2 separate regions of the Homo sapiens genome follow, and region 1 is linked to region 2. The links are contacts of gene promoters, found by promoter capture Hi-C in blood cells and fetal thymus (Javierre and others, 2016). All regions are on one chromosome and are shown on one strand. Each heading gives the region's core, a stretch centred on a gene start or on the middle of the fragment in contact. The rest is flanking DNA. Distances are from core to core; before and after follow the strand shown.

What was found. Contacts are between HindIII fragments. The CHiCAGO score rates a contact against its expected background, and 5 or more counts as called.
Region 1: a contact is called between a fragment that was not itself captured here and the fragment with the promoter of DENND4B in region 2, in 3 of 17 cell types (M0 macrophages, total B cells and M1 macrophages). The highest score is 9.2, in M0 macrophages.

What each region holds. Positions count from the first base shown.
Region 1 is chr1:154,174,046-154,181,068 of GRCh38, reverse strand. TPM3 (tropomyosin 3) reads left to right here. Exons shown (of 10, transcript NM_152263.4): 3 at 4,821-4,954. Among named protein-coding and RNA genes, the nearest start is that of TPM3, 15 kb to the left of the region's middle. RefSeq lists an enhancer at 1-876. The HindIII fragment of the contact is 2,735 bases long and covers 2,654-5,388 here.
Region 2 is chr1:153,944,230-153,950,798 of GRCh38, reverse strand. DENND4B (DENN domain containing 4B) reads left to right here and starts at 4,081. Exons shown (of 28, transcript NM_014856.3): 1 at 4,081-4,498; 2 at 6,402-6,569. The coding sequence starts at 6,425. It overlaps CRTC2 (CREB regulated transcription coactivator 2), which reads left to right. Exons shown (of 14, transcript NM_181715.3): 12 at 1,415-1,684; 13 at 2,155-2,341; 14 at 2,470-3,124. The coding sequence ends at 2,690. RefSeq lists enhancers at 3,510-3,579, 4,391-4,891, 5,360-5,409, 5,730-5,829 and a silencer at 3,970-4,869. The HindIII fragment of the contact is 4,483 bases long and covers 1,392-5,874 here.

The sequences.
Region 1 (7,023 bases), core at 2,772-5,271, 230 kb before region 2:
GACCAGATAGCTTTAAAGGGGAAGACAGAGGAACTGGCCATGTGTTGAGCTGCAGAATCTTAGGCTCAGTATTTAAATATGGACATTCTAGGAGTAGTTCTAAGGTGGGTGATTCCTGCCTCCCATCCCCCCTCTTTTTTTTTTTAGATGGAGACTTGCTCTGTAGCCCAGCCTGGAATGCAGTTGCACGATCTCTGCTCACTGCAACCTCCACCTCCCAGGCTCAAGTGATTCTCCTGCCTTAGCCTCCTGAGTGGCTGGGATTACAGGCATCCACCACCACACTCGGCGATTTTTTTTTATTATTTTATTTTTTTATTTTTAGTAGAGATGGGGTTTCACCATGTTGGCCAGGCTGGTTTCAAACTCCTGACCTCAAGTGATCTGCCTGCCTCAGCCTCCCAAAGTGCTGAGATTACAGGCATGAGCCACTGCGCCTGTCCTGGGGTGATGTTTCTTAAGCTACTTTCACTCAGAGCCTGCCAAATTTGCTTATTGAGCTGAGGTCTAGTGAGGAAGTCCTCAGAATGGGGAAGTAGAGTTATAGTTAAATATTGATGAAATCATTTCTTCTACTCCCCAGCCTGAAGAAGCTTAATCTTTTGACTTTCTGCTGCTCTGCTGAACTTTGAACCCCTACTGAGGAGGAGACACCTGTGGGAAGGGAGGGGGGTTGCTTGGGCTACCTGTTATCCTCTTAAGGCATTCTGGAATGTGGGTTTTGCAGACTCCTCCCTCCTCTGGAGCGGGAAACTGCACTCTCTGATGGTATCTCATGCTGTTAGTGGGATTGTCACTTAATTATTTTCCTGGTTACTTTGTGTGAACATCCAAGCCACCCTTGTTGGGAAGCTAGATGAGTCTAAAACTGAGACACTGGTGTTCTAGGATCCATCTTTCTTTTCTGCTCTCGGCCTGGAAATTGGTCTTTTATAATGTAGCACCTTGTCAAATTTACTTTCAGTTCTGTATTTCCTTTTTACTTCTGTCTAAATGGAAACAGATGGCAACATAATGTTTAAATGCAGTCTTTTTCCTTATCTCTTTTTTTTTGTGGTAGTGGTGATAAAAATACATGTAAAATTTACCATTTTAACCATTTATAAATGTACAGTTCACCTTATCTGTTTTTAATAACTCTCTCCTAATTGTCCCTGATATTTTTCTCTTTTTAATTTTTTTCTAGTCTAAAAAACTTAAGAGGCTGGGTGCGGTGGCTCACACCTGTAATCCCAGCCCTTTGGGAGGCCTAGGCGGGTGGATCTGAGGTCCACCTGTGGATCTGATGAAACCCCATCTCTACTAAAAATACAAAAAATTAGCTGGGCATGGTGGCGCATGCCTGTAATCCCAGCTACTTGGGAGGCTGAGGCACAAGAATTGCTTCAACCCTGGAGGCGGAGGTGGCAGTGAACCAGGATTGGATCATGCCACTGTACTCCAGCCTGGGCGAGTATCGGCACTGGGGGAGTGAGGGGTCAACTGCGGGAGTGTAAGGTCAGCACACTACCTCTGCCTCAAAAAGAAAAAAAAAAGTAATAACAAAAACCTTAAGAGTACTACCGAGGGAGTGGGCTTTGATTCTGGCCTTAATCCTAAATTCCTAGTCTCTGGAGAGGTTAGAATGCTTGACTGTTGTGTGGTTCTCTTCTATTCGTGGGCCTGGTGGACTAAGCAACCTTTCTTTGGTTGCTTTGCTTTCCTTTCTCTTTCCCCAGTACTAGAACACACACTCACAGGGGAGAGGCAGATAGCCCTTTACCCCTGCTTAGGCTCCGCCTTTGTTTACTGTGGGGCAGATAGCTCTACTCCCTTCCAACTTGCCTCCCCTTTGGTGAAGTTTAAATTCCCCAAGGACACGGTATCTCCCTGGGTAATGCATTTGTGAGCACAGTGAACTCAAATAGTCCTTTACTCACAGGGCTCAAGCCTAACTTTCTGATACTCTTTCATTTGAATTTTATCTGTGGCTTTTATCTAATAAGAGAAACCCCAGTGTGGCAGAAAGCCAGATTTAGGCTAATCCCCTTCTGTCCTTGGCCCTGTTCTGCCTGAGAGTACCATCACACTGTCAGTTTCTTGCCTGGAGGGGTTGACATATTTGGGAAATCTCTTTGGAGTGGAGGATAGCCGAAGGTGTTGTCAGCCATCTGGTAATGTGACTGAGTTGCTGGGGCATTCTACTCTTTCCCCAATCCCTCACCCAGGATCTTTGCTTCCTGGGCAGTGGAGAATCCTATTATTACTTGAAGGGAAGAACCACAGAGTACTGTATATCCTCCACACTGGGCAGAGATAGGTCAGCTGAAACACCAAAACCGCATCTGGATGGGCATGCTAAAACCTAAGATGATTAGGAAAGTGCAGAGCTTAACGTTTCCCAGGGCCACAGGTAGCCTGGTCTGCAAAAAGTAGGCCTGTTCAATCTCTTGGTACCCATTGGTATTATTTGACCTGAAAGGGACAGGCACTGTGCATAGACTCATGAGGGAAAAGTCAGCTTGTCTTCCTTGTTCCTTTAAACAAAGTATCAGATCTTGATTCTGCAGGCTTTTGTTTCATTGTAAAGAGAACTGATCCTCTGTGCTAGGAGAAAAGAGAAAGGCAAGGTCCCATTCCCTACCACTCCACCCTGGAGGGGGTCTCTGAAGCTTTTTCTAGGACTCCCATCTCAGGTTCTGCTTTTGATACAGGCTTGTTCATGTGTGCATGCTCTTAGGAGGGCACCAAGATGTGTTTTCCCCCTCTCCCTTTTCAGCCTTGCTAAGAATTCTATTGTAAATGCTGATTTGTGGGAGAAACTGCCTGAGCCAGCTTGCTGTCATGGCAACTGTACACCCCCGCCCCATAGCCTGTTATCTTCTACTCCAGTTTGGGTAACTACTGGTGAGCTGCATGATGTCTTACATTTCATGAGCTTCCTCTAAATCTAGTTGTATTTTTCGTCTGAGGGGGGTAAGTCATTTTACTAGCAGTGTCTCCTAGGTCTTGCCTGATAGCCTGACTTGCTCTTGATCCATGGCCTTGTTGGGTTTGTGAGGAGAAATGTGTGTTGTTACAGAGAACATCTATTTTTCTGGAAGAGGCAGAAGCAGAGAATACTTGTCTTTGTGGTGTTTTGAGTAGTGTAGTTAGAGGCACAAATGGTTTCTTAATGATTTCAGCTTATGTTGACTTCTCGATTTTCTTTGCCTGGTGGCTAGATTGTAGCCCCAGCCCTCTGCTTCCCTTCCTAGTCTCTTCAGCTTCTCATGTTTGTATGTGGAAGTTTTTGTGCCAGTCCTGATGGTTAAAAAGGAGTCTTTTGGTCTATATTCTTCCTCATCGGAGCTAGTGGCCCAGGCTGTTTCTATAGCTGCACCAACTCCTGCCTGCCAGGAAGAAATCAGGGTAATAGAATTCAGGCACAATCTGGGCTATAGAAGAGAGATCGTGTTTACCAGGCACTTGGATAAGCATCTGAACTGGGTGGTGTGCGGGGCATATTAAATTCTTGTATACTGTTGCAGTCAGGGTACCTCCCACCAGTAAAGGTAGCGGGGAGGCAGTCATGGAAAGAGGTTTTCCTACCATTAGAATTTATCCATCCACCTGCAGGCTGCCTCCTTCTTTCCTTGTTTCTTAGAGAAAACCCATCCAGGATGGGTTTACTTGGACTCTAACCTATATACTTCATTGTGAGATGGAGGCCAGGGGGAAGATTGTCGCTGTATTAGAGGGTGAAGCTAAGGGGATGGCTGGAGGAATAGAAAGGAGAAAATTCAGAAATTTGGAGGAATGGTAGTGGGTGTGGTGGAAATGTTCTTTCTTTTTTGTAAAGCTATCAAAGCAGATAATTTTAGCCAGAAGCAGCTCCTTGTAGCCAACTTAAAAAAGGAGTACGGGGGCACAAGTTGAAGGGCTGGTGAGTAGGCATCCCAACAATATTCCATTCTTTTGCTTTCCAGTCTGGAAGGCTATTCTGGAAGACATTCCCTTGGCTAGTTATTCTTCTGATGTGTTAGGGTAAAGTGATCATAGGAATAACGGTTTGAGTTAAGCAGCAATTAATAGGTAATCCAGGATTCCCTCTTTTTTTTTTTTTTTTTTTGAAATGGAGTTTCACCGTGTTGCCCAGGCTGGAGTGTAGTGGCGCAATCTCAGCTCAGTACAACCTCTGCCTCCCGGGTTCAAGGGATTCTTCTGCCTCAGCCTCCCGAGTAGCTGGGACTAGAGGTACGCGCCACCACACCTGGCTAATTTTTGTATTTTTTATTAGAGTCAGGGTTTCACCATATTGGCCAGGCTGGTCTCAAATTCCTGACCTCATGATCCACCCGCCCCAGCCTCCCAGAATACTGGGATTACAGGCATGAGCCACCACACCCAGTCAGGATACCCTCTTTAAGAAACCTTGCTTTTTTTTTTTTTTTTTTCCTGCTTTATGAGACACTTGAAAGGTTACTGAGGATGAGACATGCCTCCAAGCCAGAGCTCAGGCAGAAGGAACCCTTCATTGACTTTCTTTTCTGACTCCAGTGTGTTGAGGAATTTGAACTGAGTCCAGGAAGTGGGTGGTACTAACTCACTGGGCTGGGCAAGGAACTGAGTTTTAAAACACTCTTCCTGTGGAACATATGGGAGTTCGTTGATGGGAAAGGGAGGAAATATATATATATAAAGTTATGTCTGCTAGATCTTTTAACAGCTGAGCTAAGACAAGTTCTACCCTGCGAGACTCTGGCTTTTTCATGGTAGTCAACCCTGATCTTAATGTCATAGTTATTTCTTCTTTTCTCCATGCCTCTGCTTCCCTTGTCCATTCTTTCCTTCAAATGCAGGCTGAGGCTGAGGTGGCCTCCTTGAACCGTAGGATCCAGCTGGTTGAAGAAGAGCTGGACCGTGCTCAGGAGCGCCTGGCCACTGCCCTGCAAAAGCTGGAAGAAGCTGAAAAAGCTGCTGATGAGAGTGAGAGGTGTGTAGGGAAGCCTGATGGAGTGTGGATTTTAAAAGTTCATAATAGTTCTGATCAAGATTTCCTTATAGACCTGTTTTCTAAATAGCAATTCTGGCTGCGTGTGATGGCTCACGCCTGTAATCCCAGCACTTTGGGACGCTGAGGCAGGAGGGTGGCTCAAGCCCAGGAAGTTGGGGCTACAGTGAGCTCTGATTGCGCCACTGCACTCCTGGGTGACAGAGAAAGACCCTGTGTCAATCAGTCAATAAAAATAAAATACTAACTCCATCACACAGGATCTCCTTTCTATTCTGCATATTCTGTCCCCTTGAAGACAGTAAGGGTAACTTAGATGTTGTGACCCTTTTGTAATTGGTATTTCCTTACAAATTGGCCTAATGATCCTTAAAATGGGATCACCAGTATGACTTCTACTTTCTGGATCATAAGCTTCTATTTGTGAGATTAATTTCTCTAAAACAGAGGTTCTCTAAGTAAGGTCTCAGACCAGCAGCATCAGCAATACTTGGGAACTTGGTAAAAATTCACATTCTCAGCTCCTATGCTGATCTGCTGAATCAGAAACTTTGGATGTGGGGCCTGGCAATCTGTTTTTAGTAAGCCTTCTCAACGCTGGTTGCATTATTAGAATCATAGGTAGGGGTGAGGGGGGAAATCACTGGGGAATTTAAAACTGGATGCTTAGATCTCATCCCAGTTCCATTAGAATCAGTTGCAAGAGGGGTCTGGGCATTGATGTTTTTAAAGTTCTCCAGCTAATTTTTTTTTTTTTTTTTTTTTTGAGACAGAGTCTCGCTCTATAGCCCAGGCTGGAGTGCAGTGGCGCAATCTGGGCTCACTGCAAGCTCCGCCTCCCGGGTTCACGCCATTCTCCTGCCTCAGCCTCCCAAGTAGCTGGGACTACAGGTGTCCGCCACCACGCCCGGCTAATTTTTTGTATTTTTAGTAGAGACAGGGTTTCACCGTATTAGCCAGGATGGTCTTGATCTCCTGCCTTTGTGATCCTCCCGCCTCGGCCTCCCAGTGTGCTGGGATTACAGGCGTGAGCCACTGCGCCCGGCCTTCCCCAGCTAATTTTAATGTGTTCCTAGGGTTGAGAACCATGGCCCTTGAAACAAATTATAACTCATGTTTTTGAAAATAGCCAGTTGTCTCCTTGCCACATGTGAGTTAAACTAGAACAGAGGTGCTTGACAACTAAGGGTTTTCAGAATAAATAGTGCCTTTCTAAGGGTACGTTACTACTGTGCAGCTGTGAAAATGAAAGAGGCAGCTATGTGTATACTATTAGAGTAGCATGCAAATTATAGAAAGTGAGGGCCGGGCGCAGTGGCTCACACCTGTAATCCCAGCACTTTGGGAGCCTGAGGTGGACGATCACTTGAGGCCAGGAGTTCAAGACCACCCCAGCCAACACAGCAAAATCCAGTCTCTGGTAAAAGTACAAAAATTAGCCAGGCGTGGTGGGGCGCGCCTGTAATCCCAGCTACTCAGGAGGCTAAGGCACGAGAAGCACTGGAACCCAAGAGGCGGAGGTTGCAGTGAGCCTCCCTCTTTTTTTTGGTCTCAAAAAAAAAAAAAGAAAGAAAGTGAGGATAGCTGCATGCTGAATACCGGGGGGAAAAAAAAGAGTGTGGAAAACAAGTTGCAGAACCGTCTAGTATATTATTACTTTGGGGAAGCTGGGATGGGATTTTTGTGTGTATATATATATATATATATATATATATATATATATATATACACATATATTTAAATAATATTTATTTATTTTTTTGAGACAGAGTCTCACTCTATCCCCTAGGCTGGAGTGCAGTGGCACAATCTCGGCTCACTGCAACCTCCACCTCCCGGGTTCAAGCCATTCTCATGCTTCAGCTTCCCTCAAGTAGCTGGGATTACAGGCGCCTGCCACCACGCCTGACTAATTTTTGTATTTCTAGTACAGACAGGGTTTTGCCATGTTGACCAGGCTGGTCTCAAACTCCTGACCTCAGGTGATCTGCCGGCTTCGGCCTCCCAAAGTGCTGGGATTACAGGCGTGAGCCACCACGCCCAGCTGTATA
Region 2 (6,569 bases), core at 2,832-5,331:
CTCCTCCCCTGTATCCCCTCCTAATTTCATAGAATTCGTAGAATCAGTCAATTTCCTACTGTGGAGCCCAATTCCTTCACTTAATAGATGAGGAAAGTGGGACCTAGAGGGAAAGTGACTTTTCCAAGTTTACCCAGCAAGTTAGGAAGAGTTGAGACTAGAACTCGAAGCTCTTAGTTTAGGGCTTTTTCCACAGAGATGAAATTCTTAGCCCTTGTCTCCCTTCCTGTCCTTTTCTTCTTGTTCTCTATCTCTACTCCTCTTTTCTTTCATCCAAATGCTCTTTTCCCTCTCCTCTGCCCAACTTTTCCTCCTCCATTGCTATCCCTGGAATGTGTGTTCTGTGTTCCATCTTTACTCAGGTCCCCTCTTTTGTAGGAAAGACTGAGGCCAGATTAGCAAGGGCTCTGTTCCCAGAGTGTGGAGTGAGCTTGACTTCCCTTCCTTTCTTTCTCCTTTTCTTTCTTTCTTTTCCCACCCCCTCTGGCCTCTTCAAGGCTGTAGAACAGCAGTTCTCAACCTTAGTTCCTTATTTACTAACAATAAATAGTTCAAGTATCAAGATTTAAGAATGGTTTACTTCTAAGGCTAGGCACAGTGGCTTATGCCTGTAATCCCAGCACTTTGGGAGGCCAAGGCGGGAGTTCAAAACTAGCCTGGTCAATATGGTGAGACCCAGTCTCTACAACAAATAAAAAATTACCCAGGTGCAGTCGCGCACGCTTGTAGTCCTGGCTACTGGGGAGGCTGAGATGGGAGGATCACTTGAACCAGGAAGGTTGATGCTACAGTTCCAACTATGATTGCACCACTGTACTCCAGCCTGGGCAACAGAGTGAGGCCCTGTCTCAAAAAAAGAGAATAGTTTACTTCTGGAGTAGATTTAAAATTACCCCTGTGTTAGCCTCACTATATCACTTTCATTCTGATAGGCACTTTTTTTTTTTTGGAGACGGAGTCTCGCTCTGTTGCCCAGGCTGAAGTGCAGTGGTGTGATCTTGGCTCACTGCAACCTCCCACTTCCTGGGTTCAAGCAATTCTCCTGTCTCAGCCACCCGAATAGCTGGGACTACAGACGCCTGCTACCATGCCCAGCTAATTTTTATATTTTTAGTAGAGACGGGGTTTCACCATGTTGGCCAGGCTGGTCTCGAACTCCTGACCTCAGGTGATCCACCTGCCTTGGGCCTCCCAAAGTGCTGGGATTACAGGCATGAGCCACCACACCCTGCCAACTAATACACATCCCTGGGGTTGAGTAACTGCACTCAACCCCAGGGATGCCCGTGAGAATGTGGAATGTTGTCATGTTTGTTTTGGGAATGGTTGTAGCTAAAGAAGGTGGGAAGCTCTGACTGAGAGTTCTTGGGGTATACACTGAGCAGTAAGCTTCCCTCTTTTTACTTCTTTTCAGGGCGTCCCCCTGGATACCAGTAAACTGTCCACTGACCAGCGGTTACCCCCATACCCATACAGCTCCCCAAGTCTGGTTCTGCCTACCCAGCCCCACACCCCAAAGTCTCTACAGCAGCCAGGGCTGCCCTCTCAGTCTTGTTCAGTGCAGTCCTCAGGTGGGCAGCCCCCAGGCAGGCAGTCTCATTATGGGACACCGTACCCACCTGGGCCCAGTGGGCATGGGCAACAGTCTTACCACCGGCCAATGAGTGACTTCAACCTGGGGAATGTGAGTACTCAGGCTCCTTGCTCAAAAGCAGGGGAGTGGGTGAGGGTGGGTCAATGGGGCCTGAATGGCATGGCTGGTGCACTGTGAATGGGGAGATCTAGGTGGGGTGGGTGGTGGGGAGATCTCCTCTCCCCGGAGGTAACATAGCACTGCCAGCTTGGGGCTCCTCTCTTCCTGCGTTTGACCCTACTCCTGCCCCTCTATTTCTGCTCAGCTTGCTCTTTGATGACTTCTGCCTTGACCCGTTCTCTTCCTGGCATGCACATGCTCTGGCCCAGCAGGTACGGTGCCCATACTTACTTCGGGCCCCGTGCTCGCTTCTGTCGCTCTGCTTGCTGCCACCTCCCTCTGTCATTGCCTCTGTTCCTGGGGTGGATGAAGGTTGCTGGGCAAAGGGGATATGTTAGCAGGGCTAGGCAGGACACCAGTTCTAAATCCTACTTCCTAAAGATTTGTCTGTATGTCTATAGCTGGAGCAGTTCAGCATGGAGAGCCCATCAGCCAGCCTGGTGCTGGATCCCCCTGGCTTTTCTGAAGGGCCTGGATTTTTAGGGGGTGAGGGGCCAATGGGTGGCCCCCAGGATCCCCACACCTTCAACCACCAGAACTTGACCCACTGTTCCCGCCATGGCTCAGGGCCTAACATCATCCTCACAGGTGAATGGGGGTGGGTGGTGATGGGAAATGGAAGGAGGAAGTGACACATTCACTAATGAGTAGGAGATTGAGGGGTCTTGGAAAAGTTTACAGGACATGGGGTCCTCACCTGTCTCTTCTACCCACAGGGGACTCCTCTCCAGGTTTCTCTAAGGAGATTGCAGCAGCCCTGGCCGGAGTGCCTGGCTTTGAGGTGTCAGCAGCTGGATTGGAGCTAGGGCTTGGGCTAGAAGATGAGCTGCGCATGGAGCCACTGGGCCTGGAAGGGCTAAACATGCTGAGTGACCCCTGTGCCCTGCTGCCTGATCCTGCTGTGGAGGAGTCATTCCGCAGTGACCGGCTCCAATGAGGGCACCTCATCACCATCCCTCTTCTTGGCCCCATCCCCCACCACCATTCCTTTCCTCCCTTCCCCCTGGCAGGTAGAGACTCTACTCTCTGTCCCCAGATCCTCTTTCTAGCATGAATGAAGGATGCCAAGAATGAGAAAAAGCAAGGGGTTTGTCCAGGTGGCCCCTGAATTCTGCGCAAGGGATGGGCCTGGGGGAACTCAAGGGAGGGCCTAAAGCACTTGTAACTTTGAACCGTCTGTCTGGAGGTCAGAGCCTGTTGGAAAGCAGGGGTAGAGGGGAGCCCTGGAAGCAGGGCTTTTCCGGATGCCTAGGGGTGGGCAGTGCCAGCCCCTCCTCACCACTCTTCCCCTTGCAGTGGAGGAGAGAGCCAGAGTGGATACTATTTTTTATTAAATATATTATTATATGTTAATAAAAAAATCATATCAAACCCTTGGTGTGGTTAGTTATTTGGGGCATGGCTGGGGATCTAGGGAGTTATAGGGCCATGGGTCTTTTTATCTATTAGGCTTTTTGCATCTTCTTAGCACCACTGTGCTTTGTGGAAGGGCCCCACAGCCTCGGAATTTGTACCCAGCTGGATGTAGGCTTCCACGGCAGCAGGAAATCACTTCATGTGCCCTCCTGTCTGTCCAGGGCCCTGCTGCAGCATCAGATGGGGGCTTTGACTGATCAGACAAGTTATTCCTCTTCCTCAACCCTAGGTCTGGCAGTGAGTCGGGTAAGGAGGTGATTGCTGGCTGAGCCCACAGGTCTGAAGTGCTCCTAGGTCTCAGGGAAGCAAGCCTTCATCCTCACTCCCTCACTATGCATGCATTCACTTCACCCTCTCCACTCTTCACCACTCATTCATTTTAGTTTTAATTAAACAGATCCTTCAGTGCCATGCATGTTCTGAAGGTTTTCTCTTTCTGGATTGGGTTGCCAGCCCTTGGACCAGCCGTGTGGGCCTCTGCACCCCTCACTCCCCCAACCCGCATAGTGAGAAAAGTAGAGCCCCGCAGTTACCTTACCCCCACCTCCACTGCTCTATTCCACACCCTGCAGTCCTGGCCTCTCTTCCTCTTTCCAAAGCTCTTGTCATTTTCAAAAAAGAGAACTGAGAGCTTCTGGTTCTGGTCCAAAGGGAATGCCCTGTGCCCTAAACCTGGAAGTAGGGGGAGCCACCTGGGTCCCCGTAGACTAGACCTTCGGGACTTCACCTGCGCCCACATCATGCTTGCCACATCTGACTGCAGGACCCAGGCGGGAAGGGAGCGCGCCGCGGCCCTCTGGGTCGCCTGGGGTCAGTGTCCTGAGGCACGGGCTGGATGGTGGGAAGCTACCTGGGTGCAGGGGGCCCTCCCAGCCGCCAGGGGTCGGGCTGCAGGCGGCTGGGCTTTGGGCAGACGCTTGCCAGGGTCACGGCCGCCGGCCGAGGAGGAGGGGTGGGGGTAGCGGCGGCGCCCGCGGCCCGGAGCGGGGGTTGGGGGAGTAGAGAAAGCGGGGCGCGCGGAGGAACGCTGGGTCCCCGGCGCCGCGGGAGCTGGGAGGACCGAGCCGGCCGAGCGAGCAGCGCGGCAGCACAGTCCCCGCGTGGCGCAGCGCGGCGGGGACGCGGGGACCGCCCGGATCTCCTTCCACTGCGCCCCGCGCTCTGCGGTCCTCGGCCGCCTCTTCTTCCTTCACTCACTGCCCGGGCGGGAGCGGCGCCCAAGTCGGGTGCGCCATGTCTGGGGCCGGGTAGCCCCGCCGCCCGCCGGCCCGCCAGCTCGCCCTCCGAGCCACCCGCCAGCGGGCCGGCCGGCCGGGAAGCGCGGGACAGGCAGGTAGGGGCTGGACCGGGCTGGGCGGCAGGCGGGGACGGGCAGGAGGGAGCGCGGGCGGCAGGCGGGGTGGGGGATGGCCCCCAGCTGCTGTCCCTCACTGCACATCTGGTTCCGGTTCCTCTCTCCTGGGGAAGTGAAAGTGGAGGGGAGGGCACCTCCCGCAATTAGCTCGCCGTGCCCGGCCTCCTGCACCCCCTTCTGCTCCCGTGGGTGCCGGAGTCGGAGCCGCCCTCCCTCCCGCTTGGGTCACGCGGCGGCCGGCGCTGCTGCCGTCACGTCCTCGGCCGCCGGCGCGCCTGCTTCTCTGCCCTCCTGCTCCTTCCTCAGCCTCCTCCCCCTCGGCGCGCCCTCTGCCCCAACCCGAACTTCCCGTCACCCGGCACGCGGGCGTGGGGACCCGGAGTGGGCCCTGTGCCCGTTGTCTTCCCTAGGGAGAAAGGGCTGCTTTCTGCAGGACTCTTCCCTGGCTTGGTGAGGGGAGGCCCCGGTGCGCAGGTCCTGCGGATGGGTGCCACCCACTTGCCCCTCAGAAGGTCCCACCTAATGGCCTCTGCCTGCTGCCTTGGGCATAGGGCTCCCATTCGCCCTCAGTGGATGAGGGACAGGTCTGTGCCCCAGAATTAAATCAAGAGGCTGACGCTGACTCCTGGCTTTACCTCCCAGAAGTGGAGTCTAAATTTAGCTGGGGTTGGTGTGTGTACGTGTGTGCGTGTGTGTGTGCGTGTGTGTGTGTGTGTGTGTGTCCAGAGGCCAGGTGATGAAGAAAGCCAGCCTGGCTCTATGAGATTCCTTATTCCCTGTTCTCTGGGGGAACAGCAGGAGGTTAGCAGGACTGCACATCCTGGAACCATTCTGAGCCTCCTCTGCCTTGCTCAGGATCCTATAGTCTGAGATTCCAACTTGGCGTAATGCTGTGCTGGCACCTTCAATGGTAACCCCACCACCGCCACCGCCACCACACACACCCATAGGCTGACTTCCTCTGAGTTGCAGCTTCCCCTCCACTGTTTCAGGAAGTAACCTCCCTTCCCCTCTGAAGCACCCCCCACGCTTCTGGGCCCCTGCTGCGAGCTACCCACCAGGCTTTTTCCCAGCTTCTGCACCCTGGGGCGCCTCAGGACCCTTGGGGCTCCTACTCCCCGGGGTTGGGCCATGGAGGCAGGTGAGAACTAGGCTGTTGTGGGCCTGTTTCTGTCTCTGGGCTCCATGGTGGAGGGTGTGGGATGGCCGGGACTTGTCTCTCACAACTGCTTTGGATCTAACGAGCTACCTAAGGATCCTGGAGGTGTGAGAACACTGGATTTTGGGCCAGATTGGTGGAGTTAAGCTAGGAGAAAGGACACTTGGGTTCGTTGAAAAGACTCTTAAAGCTTGGGTTTTGTGGGCTTTCTCAGAAACCCATGGGGTCCTCTTAAAAACCTAGGAGTGGGCTCTTTAAGAACATTGGCAGGATCACAAGGTTCTTATGGTGTCATAACTAGAGTAGGAAGGTCAGAAACCCTTGAAAAGACTGTAAGGTTGGTATGATGTCATGGCCAGCATGAATGATGTCATGGAAGGCTATTACAAAAAAGATTGTGATCTCTGTGATGTTATAACTGGTGAGCCTTTAAAAGGGACACATGGACAATGTGAATGTCATAGCTCAGGTTAGCTGTGTGTGGTGGAGTTTAGGTTCTTTGAGGGGAGTGCCAGGACCATTAAGTGGGAGGGATCTGGTCTCTTTAAGAAGCTGTGGTGGGCAGTGATGTCACAGGGGGAAGAGTTCAGGATTGGCCGACCCCTTATCCTGCCTTTCTTTGGAAGGACTAGGAAGAGGAGGGGAGCAAGAGGGTACCCTGGTTGCCATGGCATCCCCAGCCTTCCTTGCTTCATCTCTCTCCCACTTGACCATTCCAGATGCAGTGAGTGAGGGGGGGGCCATGGCGGAGGAGCGGCCCCCCCGGCTGGTGGATTACTTCGTGGTAGCTGGGCTTGCAGGGAACGGAGCACCCATCCCTGAGGAAACGTGGGTTCCTGAACCCAGTGGGCCCCTGCGCCCTCCCCGGCCAGCTGAGCCCATCACAG